4 separate regions of the Homo sapiens genome follow, and regions 1, 2 and 4 are each linked to region 3. The links are contacts of gene promoters, found by promoter capture Hi-C in blood cells and fetal thymus (Javierre and others, 2016). All regions are on one chromosome and are shown on one strand. Each heading gives the region's core, a stretch centred on a gene start or on the middle of the fragment in contact. The rest is flanking DNA. Distances are from core to core; before and after follow the strand shown. Region 1 holds the start of COQ3 (coenzyme Q3, methyltransferase). Region 2 has its middle 140 kb from the start of PRDM13. Region 3 holds the start of CCNC (cyclin C). Region 4 holds the start of FAXC (failed axon connections homolog, metaxin like GST domain containing).

Region 1 (6,775 bases), core at 491-2,990, 170 kb after region 3:
TATACTGCATTACAGCCATTACAACTTTCCAATACCACTTAGGCTTAAGGGTCATTGGGAAAGCCCTTTGTTGATGTTTGTAGCGAGAAATACTATGAGCTAGTTTTGCTTATTTGGGCCAGACCTGTTCTGGGTGTTCAAAAGACATACTTGTCAGCATAAAGCAAATCATTGATTCCCCTTCTTGTTAAAATGTAGTGGAAAGGCTCTGAAGCCCAGTGAAGTGTGGTACCTTCAAAGAAAGTACATATAAAGCTCCTAGAACTTTATTTAATTGTGCTTGCACTTTGCTTTTTCCTTGGATGTGTCACTCCAATAAATACAAGACGTGCTACATTTTCTTTTGTGCAGAGCTTTCTGCCTTCATGTGGAGAGAGGATCATGTATCTAAGGGTAGAGGAGCTCTGAAGAGGACATAGCAACTGAAAAGTGCGACCACCCTTAGGAGGAGGTCAATATTTTAGCTAAGAACCATGAATGAAAGACTATTGCTGTCTGGGTGAGGTGGCTCCCACCTGTAATCCCAGCACTTTGGGAGGCTGAGGCAGGCAGATCACCTGAGGTCAGGAGCTTGAGACCAGCCTGGCCAACATGGTGAAACCCTGACTGAAAATACAAAAATTAAGCCGGGAATGGCAGCATACACCTGTAATCCCAGCTACTTACGAGGCTGAGGCACGAAGAATCACCCGAGCCTGGGGGACGGAGGTTGCAATGAGCTGAGATCCTACCACTGCACTCCAGCCTGAGCAACCGAGTGAGGCTGTCTCAAAAAAAAAAGAAAAAAAAAGATTCCTGAGCGGTAAATTTCGCTAACTGAAAGAACCCTTTACCAATTTGACCCTACCTGTTGAAAATACAGAATAATTTTTTGTCTTCAATGTTGGAGATTCGTCATTGTTCTTACCCAAAGAAAGACTTTGTGCATTTAGACGTAAAATGTTACTGATCACTGTTCCTAGCTCTAAATGAAGTTTGCCTAGACTGAGCCACAGAAGCCTCCTACTACATGATGTATATACCCTGTACAAGATAATAGTCATTTGCAGAAAATAAGTTTTACATTTGGCCTTCTGGCCATCTGATATTTGAGTGCCTTGAAAGGGGAAACAATTCTTCCCTTGAGGAAGAAGTGCTCCCATACTCTTGCATTCTTAGCAGTAGGGTCAATGTCTTACAGGAATATAAAAGTCCTTGAAGAGACATCTGTTAAGTGTGAAATAGAGCTACATGGCAATAAAAGAAGACACAGCACGAAGTAATGGCCTGATTGAGGTCAACTTCGAACATGAGGTTTGAGGTGTCCTATAGCAATAAAGTATCTTCAAAGTTGTTTATGATAGTAAAAACATCTTGCAGTTTAATTCCATGTGCAATTTGCTAAATGAGCGTGAAAGTATAGCCATACATACATAACACTCAACAATACAATCATGAAAGTCGGCTGCAGGCCGGGCGCGGTGGCTCACGCCTGTAATCCCAGCCCTTTGGGAGGCCAAGGCGGGCGGATAACCTGAGGTCAGGAGTTCGAGACCAGCCAACATGGAGAATCGCTTGAACCCGGGCGGCGGAGATTGCAGTGATCCCAGAATCCGAGATGGGGACTGTACTCCAGCCTGGGCAACAGAACAGACTCTGCTAAAAAAAAAAAAAAAAAAAAAAGTCGGCTGCAGACGGCGAAAGTGATCTCGGAACCTTTATGTTGGGGATCTTTTTTCGGGAGGGACCGGAAAAGAGGTGGGATCGTTTGTCGCGATGTGGAGTGGCCGTAAGCTGGGCTCCTCCGGGGGTTGGTTTTTAAGAGTGCTGGGGCCTGGAGGCTGTAATACAAAAGCTGCGCGTCCCTTAATTTCCTCGGCGGGTGAGTGTGTGTGCGGAGGTCCTTCGCATGCAGTCAATTGCGAGCGCTGGCGTCTCTGCGCATGCGCCGGGGGTGGGGCGGTGGGTTGTCTCTGGACCTCGCGAGGGGTCAGCGCGAAACCTAAGGCTTGGTCCTGGCCCCATCTCTCTCCATTGTAAACCTCGCATAGTCCCGTTGGCGGACGCCGGGGAAAAGAGCTCAGGACCAGTGGTCCTGTCTGGAAAAGCGCAGGCCGCGGGTCTCTTGTGGCTGAGCTCCTTGCCCCAGGAGCCGGCGACCCGCTCTGCGTGTGCTGCAGTCTGAAGGTCATGCATCTTTCCTTTGCCGGGGCAGGAATAACTCACGCCTCGTAGTTATGCATAGCTTTGTATCTGTGTTTTGTTTGCACAAAGCTTGCTGTTTTTTTCAGAAAGAATTTAAGGCAGCTGTATTACTTTTTGATTAATAGGTTAATCCAACAGACTGCATTTGCAAATGAGATCAAGAAAATAATGCACTGCTCAGTGCTTGTAGACAGCAGTCTGATTTTCGAACTCTCAGTATTAAGTAGAAACTTAAGCTCATCTTTCACATGGAACTCTTAACAAATACTGTATGCCAGACACTGGTATGAGCACTGGGAATTTAAAAATGAATGACACCGCAAGGATCTCTTTAAAAATGTTAGGATAAACCTAAGATCAGGATATAATGAACAAAAAAATGGGGAATCTAACCGCCCATTAATAAAGGTTATTAGTTGGTACTATCATACAGTGAAAAATAGTACAGCCAATAAAAATGATTTAAATCTATTTGTACCCACATGGAAAAGTAGTAAGATATAGTGTTAAGAAAGTAAAGTTTCATTGTTTCCTGGAAGGAGCCAAAAAAAAAAAAAAGTTACAAATCAGTATGTATAGTGAACTTGGAGTTACAGGTGGAGATATATAGAGAAATTTTGCAGTGATTGCCTGTGGTAGAGTAGGTGATTTTCTATCATTTTATCCTTTATATACTTTTCTTTTTCTGAACTTTTTTTAGTAAACATGTGTCTTTTATAATCAAAAATTTAGAAAAGATATAATAAACCTAGTTCCAATTTTTGAGGGGTGAACATAGAAGGAGCATTTAATCCATATTTGGGATCAAGGAAACTTCTTGAATGGGATATTTAGAGAAATCTTGAAGGAGGTGGCCAGTTTTAGAAGCAGTTGGTCGAGACAGGCAGCTCACTTGAGGTCAAGTGTTCGAGACCAGCCTGGCCAACATGGTGAAACCCTATCTACTAAAAATACAAAATTAGCTGGGCGTGGCGGCAGGCGCCTGTAATCCCAGCTACTCGGGAGGCTGAGGCAGGAGAATCGCTTGAACCTGGGAGGCAGAGGTTGCAGTAAGCCAAGATCACACCATTGCACTCCAGCCTGAGCAACAGAGTGAGACTCTGTCTCAAAAAAAAAAAAAAGCAGTTGGAGAGGGGAAAGGACCAGCTCGAGAATCTGTGAGAAAGTTTGTGAGAAACTGCAAGGTTCCTTGAAAAGTAAAGTGTGTAGGTGGAGGGCAGAAGGTAAAGGCAGGGGGTGGCAAGGGATGAGGAAGAGGCCTTTTTGGCCATGACACATTCATGAAAGGCCATTTACACCTCCTGAGGTAGACTATCCCGCGGACAGTGGAAATCACTGAAGAAGCAACATGAACAGATTTATGTTTAAGAAATAACACTTGGCAGCTGTCTACATAGAATGTGGGATGGAGTCAGGCAAGTCTAGGCCCAGGAAGACCTTAGAGCAATCCAGACAGTAAATTATCATTGCTGGAAATAAAGTATTGGTAGGGTAAAAGTCTGTCACCTGTTTTATTCACCATCAGCATGGTGCCTGGTAGGTGCTGAATAAATGACTTTTCAATAAATAAAATGAAAAAAACCTTTTCCCATTCCTTTAAAATTTCAAATACCAGGATGATCACAGATTCAAGGTAGAGAAGGAATTGGTAGCATTCTGTTTAAATACAAACTCAATTACTCTCTTTCCGTTGTGGTAAGGTGGTAGAGTGGTTTTTATTTTTACTTTTTAGATTAATTAATTTTTTTTTTTGAGAAAAGGTCTTGCTCTGTATCCCAGGTTAGAGTGCAGTGGCATGACCACAGTTCACGGCAGCCTTGGCCTCCCTGGCTCAATTGGTCCTCCCACCTCAGCCTCCCAAGTAGCTGGGACTACAGGCAGGCACCACAATGCATGGCTAATTTTTATATTTTTAGTAGAGAAGGGGTTTCACCACATTGTCCAGGCTGGTCTTGAACTCCTGGGCTCAAGCAGGCCGCCCACCTTGGTCTCCCAAAGTGATGGGATTACAGGCATTGAGCCACTGCGTCTGGCCTAAGATGATTTTTAAACCTCTTGAGAATTGTAGCAATACTGATGACTTAGGGATTCATTTTCCAGAAATAGAGGAGGTAAGAGAGAGATCAAGGGTTGTCTGTCCGTAAAAGCAGATATTGTTAAAATTTCTAAGGCTTAGTTTCATAATAGTAATACCTTATATGTCGTTATCGATGTATCATGGTTTACATAGTTAAACTTTATTCTTTAATAATATCTCATGTATCTACCTAAAGTCATACAGGAGGTGATATTTGAACTGGGTCTTAAAAGGTAGTCCAGATAGAGTTGGTGGAAAGGGAAATAAAATGAACAAAAGCCTGGCCGAGCACCTTTAATCCCGGCACTTTGGGAGGTCGAGGCAGGTGGATCGCTTGAGCTCAGGAGTTTGAAACCAGCCTGGGCAACATAGCAAAACCCTGTCTCTACAAAAAAAAAAATACAAAATTTAGCCAGGCATGGTGGTGTGCTTCTGTGGACCTCGCTACTGGATAGGCTAAGGTAGGAGGATTACTTGAGCCCAGGAGGTAGAGGCTACAGTGAGCCGTGAACCCACCACTGCACTCCAGCCTGGGCAACACAACGAGACCCTGTCTCATAAATAAATAAATAAATAAATAAATAAATAAATAAATAAAATGAGCAAAAGCCTAGACACATGAACTTTATTAAAAAAGAACATTGTAATGGGTTTGGGATGGACTGTGAAGGGCTGATTAAAAAATAAAACCAAATAAACATAAGCTCAGGAGAAAAGTATGCAGAGACTACAAAAAGACAAGATGTGAAATATAAATGACCACTAAACATAAGAAAGGATGCTTAACCTCATTCATGATAAATTGAAACTACATTAACTGGGCACGGGGCCCATGTTTATAGTGCCAGCTACTCGAGGGGCTGAGGTGGGAGGATCGCTTGGGTGACCTTGGTGGAGGTTGTAGTGAGTGGAGATTGTTCCACTGCAGTCCAGCCCGGGTGACACAGTGAGACCCTGTCTCAAAAACAAAAACAAACAATTAAAACTACACTAAGATACCATTTTCATGTATTTGATTAGCAAACATAAAAATGTTTAACAAAGACTGGGCGCGTGGCTCACGCCTGTAGTCCCAGCACTTTGGGAGGCCGAGGCGGGTGGATCATGAGGTCAGGAGATCAAGACCATCCTGGCTAACACGGTGAAACCCGTCTCTACTAAAAATCCAAAAAATTAGCCAGGCGTGGTGGCGGGCACCTGTAGTCCCAGCTACTCGGGAGGCTGAGGCAGGAGAATGGCGTGAACCCGGGAGGCAGAACTTGTAGTGAGCTGAGATCTCGCCACTGCACTCCAGCCTGGGCGACAGAGCAAGACTCCGTCTCAAAAAAAAAAAAAAAAAGTTTAACATTGTATGGGTGACAGTGTGGGAAAACCAACAAGAGACACTCTCATAGATTACCGATAGGATAGTAAATTGGTTCAACATCTATTTAGTGGCAATTACAGATTTACAAATGCACGTACCCTTTGACATCATTCTTGAGATTTTACCTACAGGGACTCTGAAACACATATGAAATGAAATAACCTATGTAATTTAATCTCTAGTTGTTGTCGTTTTGAGACGGAGTCTCACTCTTTCGCCCAGGCTGGAGTGCGGTGGCGTGATCTTGCCCACTGCAATCTCCACCTCCCGGGTTCAAGTGATTCTTGTGCCCCAGCCTCCCAAGTAACTGGGACTACAGGCGCACCCCACCACGCCTGGCTAATTTTTGTATTTTTAGTAGAGACGGGCTAATGCCATGTTGGCCAGCCTGGTCTCAAACTCCTGACCTCAAGTGATCCGCCCACCTCAGCCTCCCAAACCGCTGGGATTATAGGCATGAGCCACCACACCCGGCCCTAATCTCATAGTTTTGATAATTACCCAAATGCTCATTATTAGGGAACTGCTTAAATAAATAATATAGCCATACAATGAATTATCACACAGCCTTTTAAAAAATATGAAATAATTTCCAAGATATGTTGGTAGGTGAAGAGAAACATTCAGAATGAGTGTATTGTGCTACATTTTATATAAAATGAGAGAAACTGATACTTTAAAATGATTGCATATGTATAAAATGCCTCTGGAATCTTACATACAAATCTAGTAGGATTGGTTGTTTATAGGGAGAGAAACTAGATAGCTACAGTCAGGGCTGGGAGAGATACTTTGTACTGTACCCTTTTGTACTTTTTGATTTTTTAAATTTTTTATTTTGAAATAATTTAAGACACAAGAAGTGGCAAAAATAGCACAGAGAGGCTGGGTGCGGTGGCTCACGTCTGTATTCCCAACACTTTGGGAGGCTGAGGCGGGCAGATCACTTGAGGTCAGGAGTTTGAGATCAGGCGGGTCAACATGGCGAAAGCCTGTCTCTACTAAAAATACAAAAAGTTAGCCGGGCATGGTGGCGTGTGCACCTGTAGTCCCAGTTACTTGGGAGGCTGAGCTGGATAATCACTTGAAACTGGGAGGCAGAGATTGCAGTGAGCTGAGATCATGCCTCTGCAGTCCAATTTGGGCGA
Region 2 (7,543 bases), core at 3,462-5,961, 180 kb before region 3:
TGAACATATTTCCATAGAGAATTATCTAGATGAAGAGCAAAGCATTCAAATACAGTCAAATGCGATTGTATAAAGGTACTATACATTCATTCATTAGGAGAGTGTTCTAATATAAAATCAAAAGTAAAGCATGCCATAGGTAATTATTAGTGGCTCAGTTGTCAGTTAGTCAAATCAACAAAAAGGCCAATTATTCTAAGGATAGCCAAGATGGAACGCTCATTGTTGGAATTGAGTTGTTTTGAGATAGTTATGGCCCCTTTTTATGGTATAAATTAGTTTCCCAGTGAGAACATTTGGGACATAATTTCATATGTTGTAAATTATCCCTAAATTTTAAATCTTTAACATTTGGAGAGAAATATGATACTACCTTTAAAAGCCAAGTAAGGTATTAAAAGGAAAAACAGATAATTAAAATTTTAGATTAAGTTAGAATAGTACTTCCTTTTTTCCAATTTCAACACCTATATAACTCAAGAAACTGTATCAAAGACAAGTAAGTTTTCATTCAACTTAGTAATCATATCCATAGTTTATTTCTTAGCATGGAATTGAACTTATTGGTATATGTTGGAATAATTCGTTAAGAATAATAAAAAATTTAAGTGTTTTTAAATTTGAGAAAGAAGTGAACAACCACATATATAGAAAGCCTACAAAAGTATCAGGAGTAGAAAATGCCATGAGTGTCTAACACTTAGTGTCAAAAACATGTGTCCAAAGTATATTTGTAAATACAGTCTATTTGTAAATATAGTCTTCCTTCATCTCAGAATTAAAATTGTACAGTGGCTCTGGTATATTAAATTCCATCTCTAGGCTCTGCCAGTATTCAGTACCAGGCTATTCAAAACATTAGCTCAGTGAGAAATTGTTCTGGATAGTCACTCCCTCCTCATTGCTACCTGGGGTCCCAATTCACTGCTCCACCATGGCAGTTCTCACCAGGTATACTGATTGCCTTCTAGTCTGTCCCCTCTGTGGACTGTGTTCCCAGACAGCAAGGATTGTAGCTCATATATTGCTCTAGCCCCAGCCCCCAGCTCTTAATAAGTGTGTTTGATTAAATCAAATAAACACACAAAAAGCGTGATATTCAACCATTCTCAAATCCAGCTGTACAGTAGAATTACCTGAAGATCTTTAAAAACATTTATCCTCAGAAAACTTAAATCAGAATCTCTGGAGGTGAGAAGCTCTGGGATATGTATTGTTTAAAAATCTTCCCAGGCACCAGAAGCTGGGAAGAAGGGAATGAGGAGTGATTTTTAATGGGTATAGAGCTTCAGTTCTGCAACATGAAAAAGTCCTGGAGATCTGCTTTCCAACTATGTAAATATACTTCACGCTACTGAATAACACAGTTAAAAATACTTGAAAATACTTGAGATAATAAACTTAATGATACTTTTTTTTTTTTTTTTTAGACAGAGTCTCGCTCTGTCGCCCAGGCTGGAATGCAGTGGTGTGATCTCAGCTCACTGCAGCCTCCACCTCCTGGGTTCAAGTGATTCTCCTGCCTCAGCCTCCTGAGTAGCTGGGCTTATAGGTGCACACCACCACGCCCAGCTAGTTTTTGTATTTTTAGTAGAGATGGGGTTTCACCATGTTGGTCAAGCTGGCCTCGAACTCCTGACCCGCCCACTTCAGCCTCCCAAACTGCATACCAAAAACTACTTGTTCCTTAAAAAAGAAAAAAGAAAAAGAAAAGGAATCCAAGGCTAAATATGTTTCAGAAAATCTAAATGTCTTACCCAGAATAAAAATGCTCATTAGAAAATTTAAAACTTTAAGAAATCCCACAATTCAGAAATCTATTTAACTTATTTGTTTCCAAAACTTATTTGATTATATCATTATGAAAGAACCCTTCTCCCTCAAACTGGTTTTTATTCTTGAAAATGAATTATAGCATGGAGCAATGCCTCTCAACCTTTTGATGTCCACAGCACACTTTTGAGTACTAGAATCCCTAACAGTAGGCTTGAAAGGGAAAAATGACTCAAAGGAGCAGTAAACAAGACAGCAATGATTACAAACCATCACCAATGCAACATAACAATATTTACAATGTCTAAACATGCATGCATTCACAGTTACTGCATCGTATTATTTTATCCCCCTGAAATGCTGTTGTTTTGTGATGGAGCTACATACTTCCCTAATCTCTCTCTCCCATATGTTCTCCAGGCAGTTCTCACATTTCCTAGTGAACACTGGCACTGGTCTAACACTAAATCATGTCTCTTACCTTTACTCACATGATGTTGCATACCATGCGAGATCCTGTTTAACGTAGATATAAAAATGAAAACCTACTTTAATGCTTTATATAGACATTTTATTCCCTTTGAATACAGAAAGGATACACATTTTGCAAATTTTCATCTAATTTATTTTTCATAAATTAGATGAAAACTACAGGGCAGAATGATACTATTATAAAATCTGGGCACTGCTAAACTCTGTGGTGTATTTGAGAGGCACATAATTGGGTTCCTTTAATCCAGGCGGCAACCCATTATATTCTTTCTTTCACAGTGAATTGCATGTCAGAATAGCCACCGGGGGAAAAAAAAAAGGCATCATGATAACCCTGTTTTTCTCAAACTGTTATTTTGAAACCTGCTTGATAGTGCAGTCAACTCTGCAGTGTGGTTATTTAGTAAAGGTGAAATTATAACACTACAACATTAAAGATTCCTGACTTGCACTTTCATTGACTAGTATCAGGAAAATCAATCTAAAAACATTTAAATCACTTGAAATGTGTAACTGCCCACCCCAACTCCATCATAAGGAATGATGATATTCATAACATAATATTAAATATAGAACATTTATATTAGGTAATTTTAATTATAAATGATGTTATGAAGCCTGATTGAGAATAAAATTTGGCTACAGTTCTCCTTTTTGTTCCACAACTAGATTAATAAATGGGTTTTAGTATTTTTACTGGGTTAAAGAGTCAAGCTAGAAAAAAGAAAGAGAGAAAAGAAGAGTTTGTATAACCACATGCACAAAAAGAAATCTTGGAATAATTATTTTAACTAATGTGACTATTAAATGGAATTTTGTTTTACTTATTTGAAACACATCAACTGAGGTTGATATATTTTGGTCTTAGTGCTGTTTATGGTTATAATGTTGACATCTTCCTCTTAAAATGTTAGGCAAATCATAGGTAATCAATTAAAATACAATTTATACAACTGATGGGTTGAAAAAAGATAGACAATGTCAGAAAACAAAATCATAGTTCATTTCATTGCTATGAGAAAACTAAAAACTCAGTTGCTTTATAAAATGAGCTTGAGCCTAGTTGTAAATTTTGTAAGCCTTTTCTCATTAAAAAATATATATATATAGTATTAAAAGTTCCACTTACTGAAGGCTCTCGGGCCTTCCGATCTTAACATGTACGAGATGCCTACTGAGGAGTTTGGTTGCATAGGAATCTTGACTACAGAGACCTTGCAGAATCTGGCGCTTTTATTTTCACCTGTTAAAAAAATATGAAAGTCAAGCTGTTCTCTTAAGCAATGGGTTTGATCTTCTTAAGCTGTATTGCTATATAAAACAATATTAAACTGTATTGTCTCTTTGCATGTGAGTCCAAAAGGAAGAACAATGATAATTTTCCTCAGAAGACTTTTATCTCCTCCCCCAACACACATACACACAAACAGATAAGTAGAAATTTTAAAAGGAAAAGAATAGTAGTGAATTTGTAAACTATTTCTTAAACACACTCATTCACTTGCATTGTAGACGTTACTCTAGTGAAATAGATCTAACTGACTGAGATAAATGTAAAGAGATGTATCTTCATCATTATCTTATTCAAGGGCATTTTTCTTACAGCATAGCACAAATTAAAGCTTCTATACAATAGCCGTAACTAATTTCATATACCTAATTCCAAAGTTCATCATCCAATAAGAGAAAAAATATTTTTCTGTTTTAAGGTAGCACACATTTCTCTCTCAAAAGGGTCAACAATTTCTGGCTCCAGATACTAAGACATCCTCTGGCTTGCTCCCCAAAAGGCCATGTCATTCTTATACAACTTAATCAGTGGCTACACAGAGGAGAGCAACACTGCAATCTTTCTGATCATTTTAATGAGGACCCCTGGCTATTCAGTCATTGAAATATAATTGACTTGCTCTCCTCTTATTTTCATAATAGACACTCCAACCTAGACCACGTTTATTTGGCTATAAGAAATGTCAGGAAGAATTGGAACTTTTCTGAGTGTCCCCATTAAAACTGAAAACATGCCACCCTGTCTTTTACATGAGCTGCAATCATTTTGTGTTGGTCTCATTATGCAATACAACATGCAAATATTCCAGTCGCCTTCTCACCAAACTGCAAGGCCAAGAAAATAAGCACACCAAAAAAGTCTTACTTTATCTGTCCTTTTTTCTTACAATTTAATATATTTGTCCAATGTTTAGAAAAATTAGCAGCAGAAATAAGTATAAGTGTTCCTGTCGTAACTGATATTTAATAAGGTTGCAAAGTGAGACTGATGCCTTTCTACTTAATGATTACTCTATTTTCATAAAATGCAAAACTTTTCTCCATGAAATTACATAGTCTACTTAAGGATCAACTAAACATTATTTACAAAGTTATTATGTTTATACTGAGAGGTTTAGGTTTTCAAAAGTGATGTGCAAAATAAATTACTGTAATCTTTGAAACAACGTGAGCCCCACAAATTATTTTATAATTTGGAGTTTTCAAACTTACATTAGTTTAAACTTGAACAACCAAAAACTTTGATAATAAGGAACTTTAATCACAGTATAAATTTAAAAGCTAGTCCACCATGGAAAAATTATTTTCATAAATCCCTATAAAGTAGGCTAAGCACCTTCTCATCAGATATTTTTTTCTTAACACAGAATATTCAGATTAGAAATGTCATTCATCATAATCATAATCATAATCATTCCATTCATTTCTATGTCAATTAAGATAAATTTATATTTGCTTTTGACAAAAGTGTTGGAGGAAAGGGATTCCTGTACTGTTAACATACTTTCGGAGGGAAGTTTAGCAATATTTAGCAATTTTAATGGACATTCCCTTTGACTCAGCAATTCCACTTTCATGAATATGTCCTCTAGTTGAACAATAGCATATATATTCATATATCTATACACACACACACACACAAACACACATATACACGGTTGACCCTTGAACAACTCAGGTTTGAACTGCACAAGTCAACCTATACTGGAATTTTCTTCTACCTCTGCCACCACAAGACAGCAAGACCAACAGTTCTTTCTCCTCCTTCTCTTCCTCCTCAGCCTACTCAACATGAAGAAAATAAGGATGAAGACCTTTATGCTGATCCACTTCCACTTAATGAATAGTAAACATATTTTCTCATCTCTATGATTTTCTTAATATTTTCTTTTCACTAGTTTATTGTGAGAGTACAGTAGATGATACCTACAACATGCAAAATATGTGTTAATGACAGTTTCTGTTATCAGCAAAGCTTCCAGTCAACAGTAGGCCATTAGTTAAGTTTTTGGGAAGTCAAAAGGTATACATGAATTTTCTACTGCATAGGGACCCGGGGTTGGGGACGATGATCAGCATTCCTAACTCCCACATTGTTCAAGGGTCAACTGTACACACAGATTTTTGTACATGGAAATACATTTACTCAGATGTTTGTTACACCATAGCTTATATTTGGAGATAAAAAACACCAGAAGTAAACCAAATATCCCAGAGGAAGGCTGACTAGATATGTGATGACTTATTCATCTTCATATAATTAAATACTATATGTCCAATAAGTGAGGTAAATATAGATATTACTACTGGCATAGATATTGCTAAGCGAAAGACAATGTTGCAAAAGTATATAGAATGTAGTCTTTTTTTCTAAGATAATATACAGGTTAACGTATGCATTTAAAAATTTAGAGAAATATACAGCAAATTGTTAACAGTGATTATCTCTACAGTATTAAAGTAGGGAGTCACTCTATATTGAACATTTATGATTCGTTTATGCATTCAGCTAAATATTTTTACTATTTATCCATTTATTTATTTATTTATTTTTGAGATGGAGTCTCACTCTGTCGCCCTGGCTGGAGTGCAGTGGCGCGATCTCAGCTCACTGCAACCTCCGCCTCCCGGGTTCATCAGCTAATATTTATTTAGCACATACAATGTGCCAAGTGATCTTCAAGGTGTCAGGAAACCTAGGGAGCAAAACAAAGTCATCAGTGTGTGATCCTTTTAAAATCAGAAAAAACAATACAATTCCTGGGATTTCAGCTATTTTAAGGAAATAAAGAAGTGAGAACCATTCATCCCATTACCCCTGTTAAGACTCTTTACCCCTTTTTTCTTGTCCAGAACTTTTTTGATGTTAACCTAATCACAGCCAGATTTTTTTTTTCTGAGACAAAGTCTCATTCTGTCGCCCAAGGTTGAATGGAGTGCAATGGTACCATCACCACTCCCTGCAACCTTGGCCTCCCAGGCTCAAGCGATCCTCCCACCTCAGCCTCCTTAGTAGCTGGAACTAAAGGCATGCACCACCACACCCGGCTAATTTCTGTATCTTTTGTAGAGATGAGGTTTCACTATTTTTCCCAGGCTGGTCTTGGCTCAAGTGATCCCCTGGCCTCGGCCTCCCAAAGTTTTGGGACTACAGGTTTGAGCCACCACACCTGAAGATCTTAATATAAGCTATCATTAAAGCAATCTCTATTAGGTCTAAATGTCTTATGAAAAAGATTGTATTATACTTTATTATCTATAAAACTTAAATACTTTTGTTACTATATATCTGAACCTGCAATTATGTAAGAGTAATGAAGTACATTTGTGATTTCATTACATATACTTTGACAGTAATAAGATAATTATGTATACGTAAATATGACTATGTAACCATACACATGAATATTTTCACAAAGCTTAAATAATAACTATAATTGTTTTTACTCATGAACCACAAGATAATATTAAGCTTATGGATCTGTAATATTTCAATATCTTATTCAACTTACTACTAACATATATTAGAAGATTTTCAGATTGATACTAATATTGTAAGAGTATAGTAAATTTTATTAAAACGTATATGTTTCTTATACAATATGTAAATGCTAATATTAATTCATATGCTTCAATTTTTTTAAAATCTAGTATGTATTCTCTCAAAAATGTCCTAATATGAGGGTTTTTTTTCCTTTTTTCCCTTTAAATTAACAAAAAGTATTTAAAGAATTATTCACAAAATGTCTTTGACTTCAATGAAAACTCATACTTATTAAAGGTAAAATTTTTAGAAAGTACTTAGGGTTCTTATTCATAATGTTCTGAACAAATTATAACTAACTCCACTAGGATGGACAAACAGACAGATACAAAATATGTAAGGGGGAAAAAAGCCAACAAATAAATTCTAAATACTTACAAAGCAACGTTGTAATGTAATAGCCGTGGTCCCCTGACAGTGAGACTAATCACTGTGAAAGGACAT
Region 3 (7,442 bases), core at 3,107-5,606:
ATGTATTTTAACAGCTTTTGTAAATTTATCTATTCCACTAGAGATATCCTTAAATGAAGTTAGCTTTTGGTTCAAGTCAATTTAATTCAACCTACATTTATAGAATGACCTCAAAAGCAATTTACTCTGAAACTAAGGAAGCCTAAGCTCCAGGCCTGTCACTTGCACAGCCCCCATGAGCACTGGGAGCTGCTGGGCATTTGGTGGAAGCAGAAACCAGGTCACAAACAGGAAGAGGTTCTATGTAGCACTTGTGGTAAATTGCCTAAAAGAGTTCACAGAAGGAAAGGACCTGAATTTCCACAGCTCTAGTAAGTTGTTGTGGCTCTTTTTGCATTCTAAATGTAGTACTCACTTTTCAACATAATTTTGTATCCGTAATGTTATATCAAAGCACATCCCCCAAATTCTATAAGAGATTTATACAAAGATGAAGGATCTCACTGTTTTGTAGGAAGAAGAGTGCAGAATTAGGTATAAAACAAAATTGCGGGGCACGGTGGCTCATGCCTATAATCCCAGCACTTTGGGAGGCTGAGGTGGGTGGATTAACTGAGGTCAGGAGTTTGTGACCAGCCTGACCAACATGGTGAAACCCCATCTCTACTAAAAATCCAAAAAAAAAAAAAAAAAAAAAAAATTATCTGGGCATGGTGGCAGGCACCTGTAATCCCAGCTACTTGGGAGGCTAAGGCAGGAGAATCGCCTGAAGCCATTGCACTCCAACCTGGGTGACAGAGCAAGACTCTGCCTCAAAAAAAAAAAAAAAAAAAAAAAGTGCTAGTCCAGTAATAGCAACAAAGTATAATAGGATCGCTTAGAATAAAACATTAGTAATACTAATTCGTTGCAGTATCCTTATCTTCTGGATGATGCCAGTTTCACAAAAACAAAACAAACCCTGAGAGAGTTGAAGAAATCCTGAATCTGTGAACTAGCCCATGGCCTGGAGTTTCTTAAGGTAGTGCCTTTTAAATATAAATATAAAGATAAATATATATATATTTTTATTTATTTTTTTTTTTTTTGAGATGGAGTCTCACTCTGTCGCCCAGGCTGGAGTGCAGTGGCTCGATCTCAGCTCACTGCAAGCTCCGCCTCCTGGGTTCATGCCATTCTCCTGCCTCAGCCTCCCGAGTAGCTGGGACTACAGGCGCCTGCCACCACGCCCGGCTAATTTTTTGTGTTTTTAGTGGAGACGGGGTTTCACCGTGTTAGCCAGGATGGTCTCGAGCTCTTGACCTCGTGATCCGCCCACCTCAGCCTCCCAAAGTGCTGGGATTACAGGCCTGAGCCACCGCGCCCTGCCAATATTTTCTATTGTGATCTGTAGTGTAACAGACAGTAGTGTTCATGAAGTATACTACACACTCGTTTACATTTCTCAGCTTTCTTTCTTTTTTTTTTTTTTTTGAGACAGAGTCTCACTCCGACACCCAGGCTGGAGTGCAGTGGCGCGATCTTGGCTCACTGCAACCTCCGCCTCCCAGGTTCAAGCGATTCTCCTGCCTGAGCCTCCCAAGTAGCTAGGATCACACGCATGCGCCACCATGCCCGGCTAATTTTTGTATTTTAGTGGAGACGGGGTTTCACCATGCTGGCCATGATGGTCTGATCTCCTGACCTCGTGATCTGCCTGTCTTGGCCTCCCAAAGTGCTGGGAGTACAGGCGTGAGCCACCGTGCCTGGCCTCAGCTTTCTTCACAGTTAAAAATTGGAGGCATGTGTCTATTCTGGTCAATGGCCCATGAGAGAAAGTGATTGGGTTGTTTCTGTTTCAAGGCTCTTAACCCTGGGTAAGAGTTAGTATGAGTCCTCTGTGCTCTCTCTAGAAAGATTTTAAACCTAGAAGTAAAGACCATCAAGATGGAGTAATTGAAGGATATATAAATATTACATTCTTGAAAATCTGGAAGACAACCACCAAGGAGAGCAAGCCGACTTTATGGGACTTTATGGGAGTGACGTATGACATGTAAAATACTTTGATGTTAAGCTATGCTGATTAGGGGTGGGGGTGGGGAGGTGTTACCACAATTTCACCTAGTGTAGCTTATCCAGACTAATTCATTCTTTTTTCTTTTTCTTTTTGGATTTGGAGTCTCACTCTGTTGTCCAGGCTGGAGTGCAGTGGCACAATCTCTGCCCACCGCAACCTCTGCCTCCTGGGTTCAAGCGATTCTTGTGCTGCAGCCTCCCGAGTAGCTGGGACTACGGGTGCACGCCACCACACTCCGCTAATTTTTGTATTTTTAGTAGAGACAGGGTTTCACCATGTTGGCTAGGCTGGTCTCAAACTCCTGACCTCAAGTGATCCGCCCATTTCGGCATCCCAAAGTGCTGGGATTACAGGCGTGAGCCACCACACCTGATGCAGACTAATTCTCACATACAAACAAATGCATTTCACATCTTGACTGTGTGTGTATATGTGTGTTTGTGTATGTATATACACACATATATAACTGAACCAAATTTAAATATAATATCCTTGCTATTTCTGATTTACCTAGTATTTTCTGTTCTATTTAGGAAAATGATTATACTTAATTTTACCACACCCTAATTGGTCTCCACCTACAATGTGAAAAATACTGTCTTAAGTTGCCTCAGATGCTGACTGTCTATAAACAAGTTTCTGGAGTGTCCAATTATTTAGAAAAATAATTATAAGTTTTACAATAAATGCATTGCTACAATGAAAATGAAATGGAAAATACAAAATATTTCGTCTTGTAAAATTAAATTATGGCTTTTTTTGCAGTATGTTTCTATTAGGTGCATACATGTACATACATGTGCATACATATATGCATGAATATTTTTAGATGTTCTGCAAAACTGTTGATTCCGCTGCTCTGTAAGTTTGCACTTTATCACTCCAAAATAACTCCATTAAGATCGCGGCCGAGATCTCGCCACTGCACTCCAGCCTGGGCGACAGAGCGAGACTCCGTCTCAAAAAAAAAAAAAAAAAAGATCGCGGCCGGGCGCGGTTGCTCACGCCTGTAATCCCAGCACTTTGGGAGGCCGAGGTGGGCGGATCACGAGGTCAGGAAATGGAGACCATCCTGGCCAACATGGTGAAACCCTGTCTCTACTAAAAATACAAAAATTAGCTGGGCGTGGTGGTGTGAGCCTGTAGTCCCAGCTACTTGGGAGGCTGAGGCAGGAGAATCGCTTGAACCTGGGAGGCAGAGGTTGCAATGAGCCTAGATAGCGCCACTGCACTCCAACCTGGGCGACAGAGCAAGACTCCGTCTCAAAAAAAAAAAAAAAAAAAAACCGCCTGATCCAGGCCGGGCCTGGTAGCCCACGCCTGTTAATCCCAGCATTTTGGGAGGCTGAGGCTGACGGATCACCTGAGGTTAGGAGTTCCAGACCAGCCTAGCGAAATCCCCTCTCCACTAAAAATACAAAGATTAGATGGACGTGGTGGCACGCGCCTGTAATCCCTGTAATCCCAGCTACCTGGGAGGCTGAGGCAGCAGAATCATTTGAACTGGAAAGGCAGAGGTTGCTGTGAGCCGAGATTGTGCCACTGCATTCCATCCTGGGTGACAGACCCAGACTCCGTCTCAAAAGTAAAAAACAGGCAGGGTGCGGTGGCTTACGCCTGTAATCCCAGCACTTTGGGAGGTTGAGGAGGGCGGATCACGAGGTCAGGAGTTTGAGACTATCCTGGCCAACATGGTGAAACCCTATCTCTACTAAAAATACAAAAATTAGCTGGGCATGGTGGTGCGCGCCTGCAGTCCCAGCTACTCGGGAGGCTGAGGCAGGAGAATCGCTTGAACTCCTGGAGGCGGAGCTTGCAGTGAGCCGGGATCGTGCCACTGCACTCCAGCCTGGAGACAGAGCAAGACTCCGTCTCAAAATAAATAAATAAATAAAGTAAAAAAAAAAAAGGAACACTTGATCCCTGAGAACAAAGTCATCTTCATTTATTTCTCTTTCCAATCACAGGAAAAATAAGTCACAAAACCTTGTACTTTATTACAATGCCACATTGTTCTGTTTTTGAAGTCCTGGAAGAGGTAATAACAGAACCCCGTATCTGAGCCACTTCGCCTAGGTTAGACCCACTCAGCAACTCCCGTGCTGAAGACAGGAGACCGAGCGGCTTGGGCCCCCGGCCAGAATTCTCAAGACGCTCTCGCGAGAGCCTTCCAACCGCCGCGAGCTCTCGTGAACACTAGTTCTCTTCAATCTCAGCACCTCCAAGGGTCAGCACCTCCCCTCCGGCTCCCTCCGCTACCGCGGGCCGGAACTTTTGTCGATAGGAACGGGTTTGCACAGTTGAGTGTTGTCGGCCGGCGTGAAGGAGACTAGGGGGCCATCCTCTTCCTTTCGCCGTCGCCGCCGCGGAGCGGAGTCGAGCCGAGCTGATTTGATCGAGGAGCGCGGTTACCGGACGGGCTGGGTCTATGGTCGCTCCGCGGGCCGCTCCGCCGGCTGGTGCTTTTTTATCAGGGCAAGCTGTGTTCCATGGCAGGGAACTTTTGGCAGAGCTCCCACTAGTAAGCGATCTTCCGTCTTCTCACCTGGGGCCGGTTTTTGGGGGAGCTGTGAGGACGGGGCCTGTGACTCCCCTGGGCCTGGATCCCAGCTCAGTTCCGAGTGCCGGGGTCCTCACGGGAGACCGCAGCGGTCAGAATCAAGATGCGCTTTTCTGAGGCGACTCCCCTCCCCGCCCCCAGCCCCAGTTTCGGGGAGGGAAGGATCTGTGAGGGGGAGGGGTGGGAGAGAGTTTCGTCTCCCGGGAAGGAACGTTTCGGAGTTTAATTTCGGATTCTTGGTTTAGCTAGGCCGCGGGGGGTCGGATAGAGTGGGCACAGGTACGGGAAGTGTGACTCAGCTCAAGACTGTGAGGCTACCTGTTCAGGACAGTTGTGGCGTGCTTTTACCTGGGGTTTCTTCGGGTGATCGGCGTCGTGGTCTTTTGTCATTCACTGTATATCTTGAGTGGATTTAATATTATGAGGAGAGGAGAGAGTCTGGCTTGTTTCTGCCTACTAACCGCTTCTTGCGCGTACTTTATGTCTAGATGGAGTTTTATATTGATAAGGTATAGGGCAGGTGCCCTCTAAATTTATCCATTTCATTAGCCTGTGCTTTATATTTTGTTTTAAAGGCCTATTTTTCCAGTGACTTTGTTTACCTGTTTCTTTAACCTTTTTCATGAATAAGTTCTTGTTTCTGTCAGTGACCATGTGAGAGCTAGAATAATATTAAAAACATTTATCCCTAAATACATTTGTTTAAGCAGGCAGGAAGGTGCGTTATGGGGTAAATTGAACATTTGAGTAGGCTTTCCACTGTATAGTTGAAAGATGAACAGAATTTGACAAGGTATCTTGGTATAATTTTTTATGCTAAGAAAGCATTAGTAAGTAATTTAAATTTCGATTCTGTGAATAGGATCTGTTCCTGATGTTCATTTTTTAGCCCTTTGCAAAGAGAAAAAAAGAAACAATGAACTCAGTAACCTATTTAAGGAAAAGCAGGTTTTCCTCTTGCTATAAAGTGATTCTGTGGAGATGACATGTTAAAGAAGCTTTACCACTGATCATATGTGTGTGTGTGTATATATATGTGTGTGTGTGTATGTATATATATATGTGTGTGTATATATGTTGCATTGTTTTCACACACTGAAATATTGCTTGGGCAAAATTAAAGTATCGAAAGTTTAGGTATTGGAGTTAGAGCTCCTGAAAAAAAAAGTTTAGGTAGTGGAGAAGAGATATTCTGATAAACTCTGAAAGAAGCTGAGAGAATTGACAAGTAGCTGACTGTTGATTTTTCAGTTTTTCAACTTAAAAAAAAAAGATCCTGCCTTATTTTCAATAGTGTTCTCATTATGCTTTCATTTATTCATAGCATTCTAAAAATATGTTTTCACTTTTCAAATATAAAATTATTATAAAGTTAAGTGTACTTCTTTGAAACTATTCTTTTCTCCCAATTCAAATAGTCCTAAAAGAAGGGACCACTTTGCCTTGCTCAAATCCCTTGAGCAGTCATGGAGTTTCTTATCTGGAAAAGGTAACGAGTGTGGAAGACAAGACAATTCTGGAAAAACAAACGAAAAGATTATGAAAGGCCATTGTCTTAGGTGAATTTGGTGAAAGAGGGCAATTGATATTAAATATGCTATATTTCATGCTTCTAAGATGCACGTTTTCACACTTTAACATCTTTGAAATCAGCATGGCAGTTGCTTTCATAGCATATGAAATAATGATGAATCCTAGATGTAATCTTAAATTTGATGAAATGCAGTATTTATAAAGTTTTTTAGTTTATTCTCCATACAGAGTTCTGTGAGGAAAACTCATAAAATGTTTGTGAAATTTATCTTTTTAAAAACATAAAATGACTCTGTGGGGATGAAATTAATTAGCAAACCACAGTGTAGTTGAGGTAGAACAAAACACAGTCTGTGACCAAAATGAACTAGAAGGGCACTAAGTATTTGCTGGTTAATTGAATGCATTAATGAACAAGTAACAAAAATAAAAACTACAAAACTAACTGTGGATACTTTATTGGTATCCACAGGAAACTGAAAATACAGTTACTTACTATCTAGAAAATAACATCATAATAGTACCATATATGGAATGTAACCAAAGCTTGAATGTATTAGAAAATCAATATCCTGAATAATTGAGAGATAATAGAAATATTCTATTTAATAATATTAAGAAGGAAACATGAAATAAACCTAAAGAAACAGAAAGACTTAAAATAGATAACGATGCTAATATATTAAAAGGAAAAAAATTATAAAAGCTAATTCTTAGAGTAAATAAAAACAGTAGACCAAACTACTGCTAGTTAAATCAGGGGAAAAAGGAATGATACAAAAATACAAAATTAGGAATGAGAAAAGTAAACCCAGGGGTACTTTTGGGTTATCTCCAGGGTTTTAAATTTGAAAGCCAAAGCAAGTTAAGAGTATTACCCAAGAGCTATGTGTTATTTCATGGGTAAATACTTTCCATCTTTCAAGAGAATCTCCTTTTGAAATTGTTCCATTTCATACAGAAAGAAGAAAAGCTTTCTAATTCTCTTTATGAAGCCATGATAACACAGAAAAATCTAGCAAAGGGAACACTAAAAACAGTCTCACTTTTGAATATTAATGCAAACATTGTAAATGAATTATTACCAAATGCAGTCTAACATTACATTGAAAGTATAAAACATGACATTGGATTTTATTATAGAAATATAGTCAATATTAAGAAATCAAGCAGTAAAGGTATTAAAAAACTAATACAATTCAACATTTATCCTTGACTAAAGCTCTTACTAAAACAGAAATAGGATGCTTCCTTAACATGAAAAACATAAAGCATCAGCAGTGGTGAAACATTGAGATAATTAGGGTGCCTATTTAAGATTTTACCAATATGCTAGTCAATACAGTTGAT
Region 4 (7,718 bases), core at 3,895-6,394, 220 kb after region 3:
TGCTTGTAATCCCAGCACTTTGGGAGGTTGAGGCAGGCAGATCACGAGGTCAGGAGTTCGAGACCAGCCTGGCCAACACAGTGAAACACCGTCTCTACTAAAAATACAAAAATTAGCTGGGTATGGTGGCAGGCGCCTGTAATCCCAGTTACTTGAGAGGCTGAGGCAGGAGGATCGCTTGAACTCGGGAGGCAGAGGCTGCAGTGAGCCGAGATCGCCCCACTGCACTCCAGCCTGGGCAAAAGAGCTAGACTCTGTTTCAAAAAAAAAAAAGAAAAAAGAATTCTGCTATGCCAGGTGGGTAGCTTGGTGTGAGATGTCTTCTCCATAAATCAAGCCAAGAAAGCAGAAGTTTACAACAAAATTCAGAGAAATATTATCAATTAAATTACCTACATTTGAATAACATAGAGATATTTTAATGCAATAGCATAGTAAATGTTACTATGTAAAAACCAGCAATAGTGCCACATCACATCCACTTATTACTGTAGGAGCAAGGCTTTAAATCTCTTAAACTTGATTTTAAAACATCAAGTGTAATATCATTCTGATAAAAGATGATTAGGATAAATTAAATTTGTAAATTATTTTGTTCATTTGTTTATGCTGTTTGTATTGGTGCCTGAAAAATGTTCCATGATATTATTAATCACCCAGGTAGTGAAACAGAGACATCATAAATTGCCTATTCTCTGTCTTCTCTCTTATCTCCTGTCCCCTTCCCTTACATCTCTCCTTCCCCATGACTTCCTCCCTCAGCTCCCAGCACTTGGGCATCAGGTCAGTCTCTCAGAAGAAATACACATTACTTTCTGTTCTAATTGTTCTTCTAGAGTCTTGATTTATTTTCTTCCTATTTCTCATTCTACTACTGCCCCAAACTTATCTGCAATGTATGATGTTCAAACTAATAAAAGGTGGTGACTTGATTGGGTTGATTAGAAACCATCTAACATGGGGTACACCTGGTGGGCAGAGTTCTTGATCTTCCTCATAAGCCAGTGGTATAAACAATTGTTACACAAACTGTGGTCTGGTATCACCTGGAAGCTTGTTAGAAATGCAGACTCTCAGGCCCCACCCCAGAACTACTGAGTCAAATTTTGCATTTTAACAATATCCTCATATACACGGTAATGTTTGAGAGGCCCACACTCAAAACATCCTAAACTTTTCTCACCACCCACCTTCTCAATTACCTCTGATCTAATTGTCTCTTGTTTGATCGTCATGACAGAGCCCCAGGTGACACATATGTACTTTAAGGTTTGGGAAACACTGATTTAGTTGTCCTTACCCAATTGTCTTGGCGAGGCTGTAGACCCACATGACACAGGGCACGCCGATATCTGCATAATAAATTATCTGAAGCTACCTTTTTCAGGTGACAGTATAACCTGCAGGCATTGGATGCTTTGTAGTCATTCAGTTGAGACAGTTGAAAACTGAGCCCCAGACTAATAGTGTAAAGCAAGAATACCATGGACAGCGCTCCAGCACTCACTGTTCTTGGTGTGAGACCCTTGTAGGTCAAAACCTTGTCCAACCTGGCGGCCCAGGACGACTTTGAATGTGGCCCAACACAAATTTGTAAACCTTCTTAAAACATTATGAATTTTTTGCGATTTTTTTTAAAGCTCATCAGCCGTCCTTAGCGTAGTTTAGGTGTGGCCCAAGACAGTTCTTCTAATGTGGCCCAGGGAAGCCAAAAGATTGGACACCGCTGATGGAGGTGGTGGAGCGCCCACAGGGCCACTGGTGTAAGACATGCTTGGATCCATCATCACCTCACTCTGGGAATTGAACTTGTTAATTGTCCCCTCTGGGCCTTAGTTTCTTTCAGTTGTAAAATTGAAATGACAATACTTATCTAACATAGCTTGTTACTGGAAAAAAAATCACTATACAACACAAACAGGTGTTCAATCAATATTAGTTCCTTCTTTTTTCTTGTCTTATAACAACTCAATTAAAGTTAGTTAACAAAAAGTCCTTGAAAAAGAAAAAGAAATTGCCTCTAGTTTGGAGCTAATGTCCATGCGTACGGCACCAAAGCTGTCAAAATTAGTGGTGGTGGTGGTAGAAGGGGTGAAGTAGAGATGCCTAGCCTAGTGCCCAGAGTCTTCAAATTTTCTCACTAACTATAGGAGCCTCAGGAGGAGAGCTGGGGTGCAGACATGCTCAGCTCCTGCACCTTCAGCCTCAGTAGGGAGGCCCTGCATAGCTGCTGTGGCTTCAGCCTGTGACTTGGCTCTACACTAGGGATTCTGAGGAGCCATTCTTTGCAGAATCAGCCTCCTTAGCAACTCTTGTTAACCAAGCTGTGTTTGGTTCCTTTCTACTGAGTTTATCCCACCACCACCACTCCTCTGGGGCTGAGTCCCTTGCCCCTGAGCCTGAGTCTCCCATCTTTCTACAGCTGGCTTGCACCCCTTTGTGGAGCAGCTTTTCCCTCTGAAACTCAGTCTGTCTTTGGATGAAGATTTGGCTGAGGATTGCATCAGTCGGTGCCTTTACAGCTAGAGCTGCTTTCCTTGCTCCCCAAAGGTTTGTTCTGAGGTTCTTCTTTTTTATTTCAGATGGAGTCTCACTCTGTCACCCAGGCTAGAGTGCAGTGGCGCGATCTCAGCTCACTGCGACCTCTGCTTCCCAGGTTCAAGTGATTCTCCTGCCTCAGACTCCCAGGTAGCTGGGGTTACAGGTGCTCGACACCATGCCTAGCTAATTTTTGTATTTTTTTTTTAGTAGAGACACAGTTTCACCATGTTGGCCAGGCTGGTCTCAAACTCTTGACCTCAAGTGATCTGCCCACCTCCCAAAGTGCTGGGATTACAGGCATGAGCCACCCCACCATGCCCGGCCTGTTCTGACATTCTGATACCAAATATTTGTCCAACTCAGATTTGTTGTCTCCTCAGTCTACTCTTCCTCTTTTCATCTTATACAGCCCTAACAATAATCATCTTTTCTCTTCTATGCCATGGATCTAAAAGTTAAAATTTAAGATGCATCAGATTAAGATGACATTTTAGTTTCTCTTGTGGAATTTTATTTTATTTTTATTTTTATTTTTATTGAGACGGTGTCTCGCTCTTGTTACCCAGGCTGGGGTGCAATGGCACAATCTCTCCTCACTGAGACCTCCGCCTCCTGGGTTCAAGCAATTCTCCTGCCTTAGCCTTCCGAGTAGCTGGAATTACAGGTGCTCGTCACCACTCCCGGCTAATTTTTTGTATTTTCAGTAGAGACGGGGTTTCGCCATGTTGGCCAGGCTGATCTCGAACTCGTGACCTTAGGTGATCCACCCACCTTGGCCTCCCAAAGTGTTGGGATTACATGTGTGAGCCACCTGTGCCCAGCCCACATCTGCTTCTTAAAGATGTTCACTGCAGTGTCTCTAAAAATGTAAACCATATTTGAACCAGAGACCAGATGATGCTCAACAGTTGTCTGACACTACCAGGAAGCAGCAGTGGGCCCCTGGCCTGCATGAGTGGGTGGGGCAGGTCACTATGAGTGAGAGTGAATTGTAGTCAGTGGCTTTCTGGGATAAAAATACTACACTTCCTCTGGGTTCTAACTTGTTTTGGGCATAAGGTTTGTCAGGATTGACTCTCCCTTTTGCCTTCCATATTCTTCCACTTAAGGTAATTTATGCCCATCCCCATGTCTAGACCTAGATATGCAAATAATGTGATCCCAAATATCAAACTTATATTCTTTAAATATTGGCTCAGTGTTCACTGAGAGCAAAGACTGAGTGCTCTGTGGGAAGGGCACAGAAGGAGCATGGAGAATCCCTGGTGCCAGCCCTCCTTGTTCCCTCTTCCAGAGCACTGCAGCTTTGGTCCCAGACTTAACTACTCTGCTTCTTGCCGACAAGGCCAGGCAGCCTTCTGGCCTCTCTCCTTGAAAGACCGGCTGGTGACCACCTCAGTCACCCCAGGAGGCCGTTGGGTTTCACTCCTTGCAACCTACTTATGGGAGCCTCACTTAGAACCACACACATTACTTCTTCCTGGGAGGTCACATTTTCCCAGGAGTGTTTGGGGAGTCTCACATGCTGGTGCCTAGGCATCAGCTGACTAGCCCCTCCCCCCGTCTCGTTGAGGCGACACGTCCATATTTATTATTTATTAACAAGACGACCACACTCCTTGCCTGTTCTAAGGGGCGGGTGTGTCAGGAGAGGAAAAAAAGGGGGAGTCCTTTTGCGCCTCAATCTCTGCTCCATAGGCAAGAGCCTGGAGGTTTCTTTTACCCATCCTTCCACCTTGAGAGTGATGAACCTCCACGGCCCGAATCCTTTTTCAGTTCTTCCAAACAATTTAAAACTATCCATGCTCTTGTTAAAATCTGTGCATATATTACAAGCTTCTATTCTTTGTACTTATGAACTTTAATAAATGAAGTTAAAGGAAAAAAATACACTGAACACACACACAGTTGTTAGACAGATTTTCTAAAACAAAAGAGGGACCCCCGTCCCCCAACCGAAACCCTGTATCAGCGAGTTCCCTGATAGTGACTTCAAAGAGGAAAGACTTGAACTGGGTTTGTCAGAGAAATCTCTCTAGGTAGAGTATTTTGTTATTTGCCAAACCAGACATCTCGTCTCTGCGAACACCTGGTCAAGCCCGAGGTAATTGTGTAATGTAATAAGAGTGTTTTTATACATTATGCAAATACGCAGCGCTTTCCTGATGGCCAGAACAATCTGATTCCCGACTTTAATCCTGGCCCACGCTCCCAGCCCCCGCCTGGTGGCGTCTCCTGCCCGCAGCTCCGCGCCGCCCCAGGTGAGTCCTGCGCGTTCCCTACTCTGGGGCCCGCGGGAGGGGCTGGAGCGCAGGCGGAGGGCCGGCCGGGGTAGGGGAGGACCGGGATCCGGGCCCCGACTGCAGCTTCCTCGCGGTGGGGCCGCATTTCCAGGCACCTCCGCCGCCCTTGCCCGCGCGCGGCGAGCGGTTTTTGGGCGTGCCGCCCGGAGGCGCGGAGCCTGCCCGGCGCGCCTCAGCCCTGCAGATCCGGCCCCGGCGGAGGCGGCCGGACCGCGGAGATGCGGGGAGGGGGCAGGGCGCGGGGTAGGTGACTTTATCCCGCCTCTGTTTCCCTGCCCCGGGGAGCAATGACATCACGCGGCCTTCTCCAGGCGCCGACACAAAGAGCGGGGCGGAGAGGCAGCTGCGGGGGGAGCCGGCGGCCGCTGCTGCCGCCCAGGGCTCTGGGGCCCCGCCGGCCAGGCCCGCCGTCCGCGGCCAGTGCCCTTCCTCCTCCTCCTCCTCTGCCGCCGCCTCCTCAGTCGCCGCCGCCTCCTCAGTCGCCGCCGCCCGCGCCGCCCGCGCCCTCCGCGCGCCTCTGAGCCCGCGCCGGGCCGCGCCGGCCCCTTCCCATGCGGGCGGCGCGGGCCCTGGGAGGGGCGCCCGGAGCCAGCCGCGCAGCATGCACTGGGGGGTTGGCTTTGCTTCGTCCAGGCCGTGCGTGGTGGATCTGAGCTGGAACCAGAGCATCTCCTTCTTCGGCTGGTGGGCCGGGTCCGAGGAGCCCTTCTCCTTTTATGGGGACATCATCGCTTTCCCTTTGCAGGATTACGGTGGGATCATGGCAGGGCTGGGCTCCGATCCCTGGTGGAAGAAAACCCTTTACTTGACCGGGGGAGCTTTGCTGGCCGCAGCTGCGTATCTGCTCCACGAACTCCTGGTCATTAGGTGAGCCGGAGAGAGGGCCCCGCACAGGGGCGCAGAGAGGGGCACCTGGCTAGGGCAGGGCTGGCGCGAGAGGGGCCCGTGCCAGCCCCTCGGTCAAGCTGCCCAGATGCCCAAGCGCCCTGCAATTACCTTTCCCTAAAGGCATTTGTGGTCACCTGGCCGTGAGGGGCAGTTTAGAGTTGAAAGGAGAATTAAACCGGTGCTGGGAGGGAAAAACATTTGTCTCCCAAAATGCTCTGGGTCACTTGTCGTTATCTATTAAGAAATGGCCTTAGGAGGATCTAAGTGCAGTGTGTTTGCAACAATAGAATTGGGCCCTGCAGAAATAGGTTACACTTTTATGAAATGCCTTGTTTATAAGTAATAATGCTGGAATATTAACTGCTAACCTTATCTTTTACCTAAAGGTTAGTTCTTCCCTAAATGTCAACATCAAAAGACTGAAAAATTGCAAAAGCTCCAGAAACCTGCGGGTCCCTGTTAAAGATGCATGACCAAGTGTAGTGGTGGGCAGCTTTGATGCAGCCTTAACCTGGTTCTCTGCTTATCTGGTATTGAACGCCAAGCACCATCTTCAGGCTTAGATGTCATTGTTGTGTGAGCAGTAGGACAGGCTAGCACATGGGTGTGTTGGGCACAACACGGAGTCGCCCAGTGCCGTAAACAGTTGCATCCGCTGCCGCAGAATGTTTACAAGATTGAGTTGGAAATACCAGAAAATGGAGGCCCCTGCTGTTGGTACATCCAGCCGGGACGAGATTTTTGTTTGGGTAGAGTAATACCACAGGGCACTGAGACAGTCGTTTGGCTAATTGATACATCAATTAATGGTTAAAATTTCCATGCATTTGAGCCTTCCGTCACTGGAAGATTACCAGAAGCCCAGTTTTCAATAGCTCAGAATGTCTCTTTGCCAGTATTTTCTAAAGTGAGAGAAATGTGTCCACACTGCCTTATTCCAGTGGAGGAATCCTACACAATAGGTTATAAACAAAGACAGTGATAGGTGACCTGTACTAGCCTGCAGGGATCCCAGGAGATTATTGTGATGGCCTAATGTAGGCATTTGGCCTAACGTACATATTTTGAATAGTTCCCATCTCTGAAAGGGTGGGAAATCATTTAGGTTTGGAGAAATGTATTGGTTTTCATATTATTTAGCCATATTTGAGGAAGTTTATTTTAAGCTTGTTGCACATTTAATTCTCTCAACACATTGCCTTGAATCTAGCTGAACCAAACAAAAAAATTTAAAGAGAATTATCTCTCTAGATTATTTGTTAATTGTGCTAGTTTTAGAACTGTATTTCAAGTTAGATTTCAAGCTACCTAAAGAACTAAAACATTTGGGCAGTAATTTAAATGGTAACCCAGTTGTTTCTCAGTTGTATTCTAGTCTAAAGCCTTTGAGGAGATCCCAAACCATGAGGCTTCTCAGCAGTGGAGGGAGTGAAGGCTTCACAGGACCAAGTTTAAAACAAAGCTTAAATGACCTTGCAGAAACAGTGTGGAGCTCAGCTGCCACTCCGGAGTAGGCCCTGCCCTGGCAGGTGTTGTCACTGGAGACTGGAGAGCTCTCTGCCCACAGATAGCTACTAACTCATTTAGGGGACTATATACCTCAGCACTGGATGCTTATTTGGACTAAGGAGTTTAATCCTAGGTTGATTCACACTTTTTCTTCCTTTTTTTTTTTTTTTCTTTTGAGACTGAGTCTCGCTTTGTCGCCCATGTTGGAGTGCAGTGGCTCGATCTCAGCTCATTGCAACCTCCACCTCCCTGGTTCAAATGATTCTCCTGGCTCAGCCTCCTGAGTAGCTGGGATTACAGGCGTGCACCACCGCGTCTGGATAATTTTTGTATTTTTAGTAGAGATAGGGTTTCACCGTGTTGGCCAGGCTGCTCTTGAACTCCTGGGATCAAGCGATCCTCTGGCCTCAGTCTGCTGAGTTGCTGGGATTACAGGCATGAACCATTGCACTTGGCTAATTTTTTTTTTAACTTTTT

Evidence for each region. Contacts are between HindIII fragments. The CHiCAGO score rates a contact against its expected background, and 5 or more counts as called.
Region 1: the fragment with the promoter of COQ3 here is called in contact with the fragment with the promoter of CCNC in region 3 in 11 of 17 cell types (total B cells, naive CD8 T cells, activated CD4 T cells and 8 more); the score reaches 12.6 in total B cells.
Region 2: a contact is called between a fragment that was not itself captured here and the fragment with the promoter of CCNC in region 3, in 1 of 17 cell types (monocytes). The highest score is 6.5, in monocytes.
Region 4: the fragment with the promoter of FAXC here is called in contact with the fragment with the promoter of CCNC in region 3 in 9 of 17 cell types (megakaryocytes, M2 macrophages, naive B cells and 6 more); the score reaches 6.5 in megakaryocytes.

Annotation. Positions count from the first base shown.
Region 1 is chr6:99,389,160-99,395,934 of GRCh38, reverse strand. It overlaps COQ3 (coenzyme Q3, methyltransferase), which reads left to right and starts at 1,740. Exons shown (of 7, transcript NM_017421.4): 1 at 1,740-1,861. The coding sequence starts at 1,756. RefSeq lists an enhancer at 1,845-2,484. The HindIII fragment of the contact is 4,880 bases long and covers 1-2,255 here.
Region 2 is chr6:99,746,588-99,754,130 of GRCh38, reverse strand. No RefSeq gene overlaps it. Among named protein-coding and RNA genes, the nearest start is that of PRDM13, 140 kb to the right of the region's middle. The HindIII fragment of the contact is 1,643 bases long and covers 3,890-5,532 here.
Region 3 is chr6:99,565,574-99,573,015 of GRCh38, reverse strand. CCNC (cyclin C) reads left to right here and starts at 4,356. Exons shown (of 12, transcript NM_005190.4): 1 at 4,356-4,520. The coding sequence starts at 4,489. It also overlaps the pseudogene TSTD3. RefSeq lists enhancers at 3,999-4,048, 4,169-4,458, 4,579-4,658. The HindIII fragment of the contact is 11,578 bases long and covers 1-5,559 here.
Region 4 is chr6:99,347,100-99,354,817 of GRCh38, reverse strand. FAXC (failed axon connections homolog, metaxin like GST domain containing) reads left to right here and starts at 5,144. Exons shown (of 6, transcript NM_032511.4): 1 at 5,144-5,711. The coding sequence starts at 5,446. RefSeq lists silencers at 4,795-4,874, 4,935-4,984, 5,055-5,114 and an enhancer at 6,306-6,870. The HindIII fragment of the contact is 2,521 bases long and covers 4,380-6,900 here.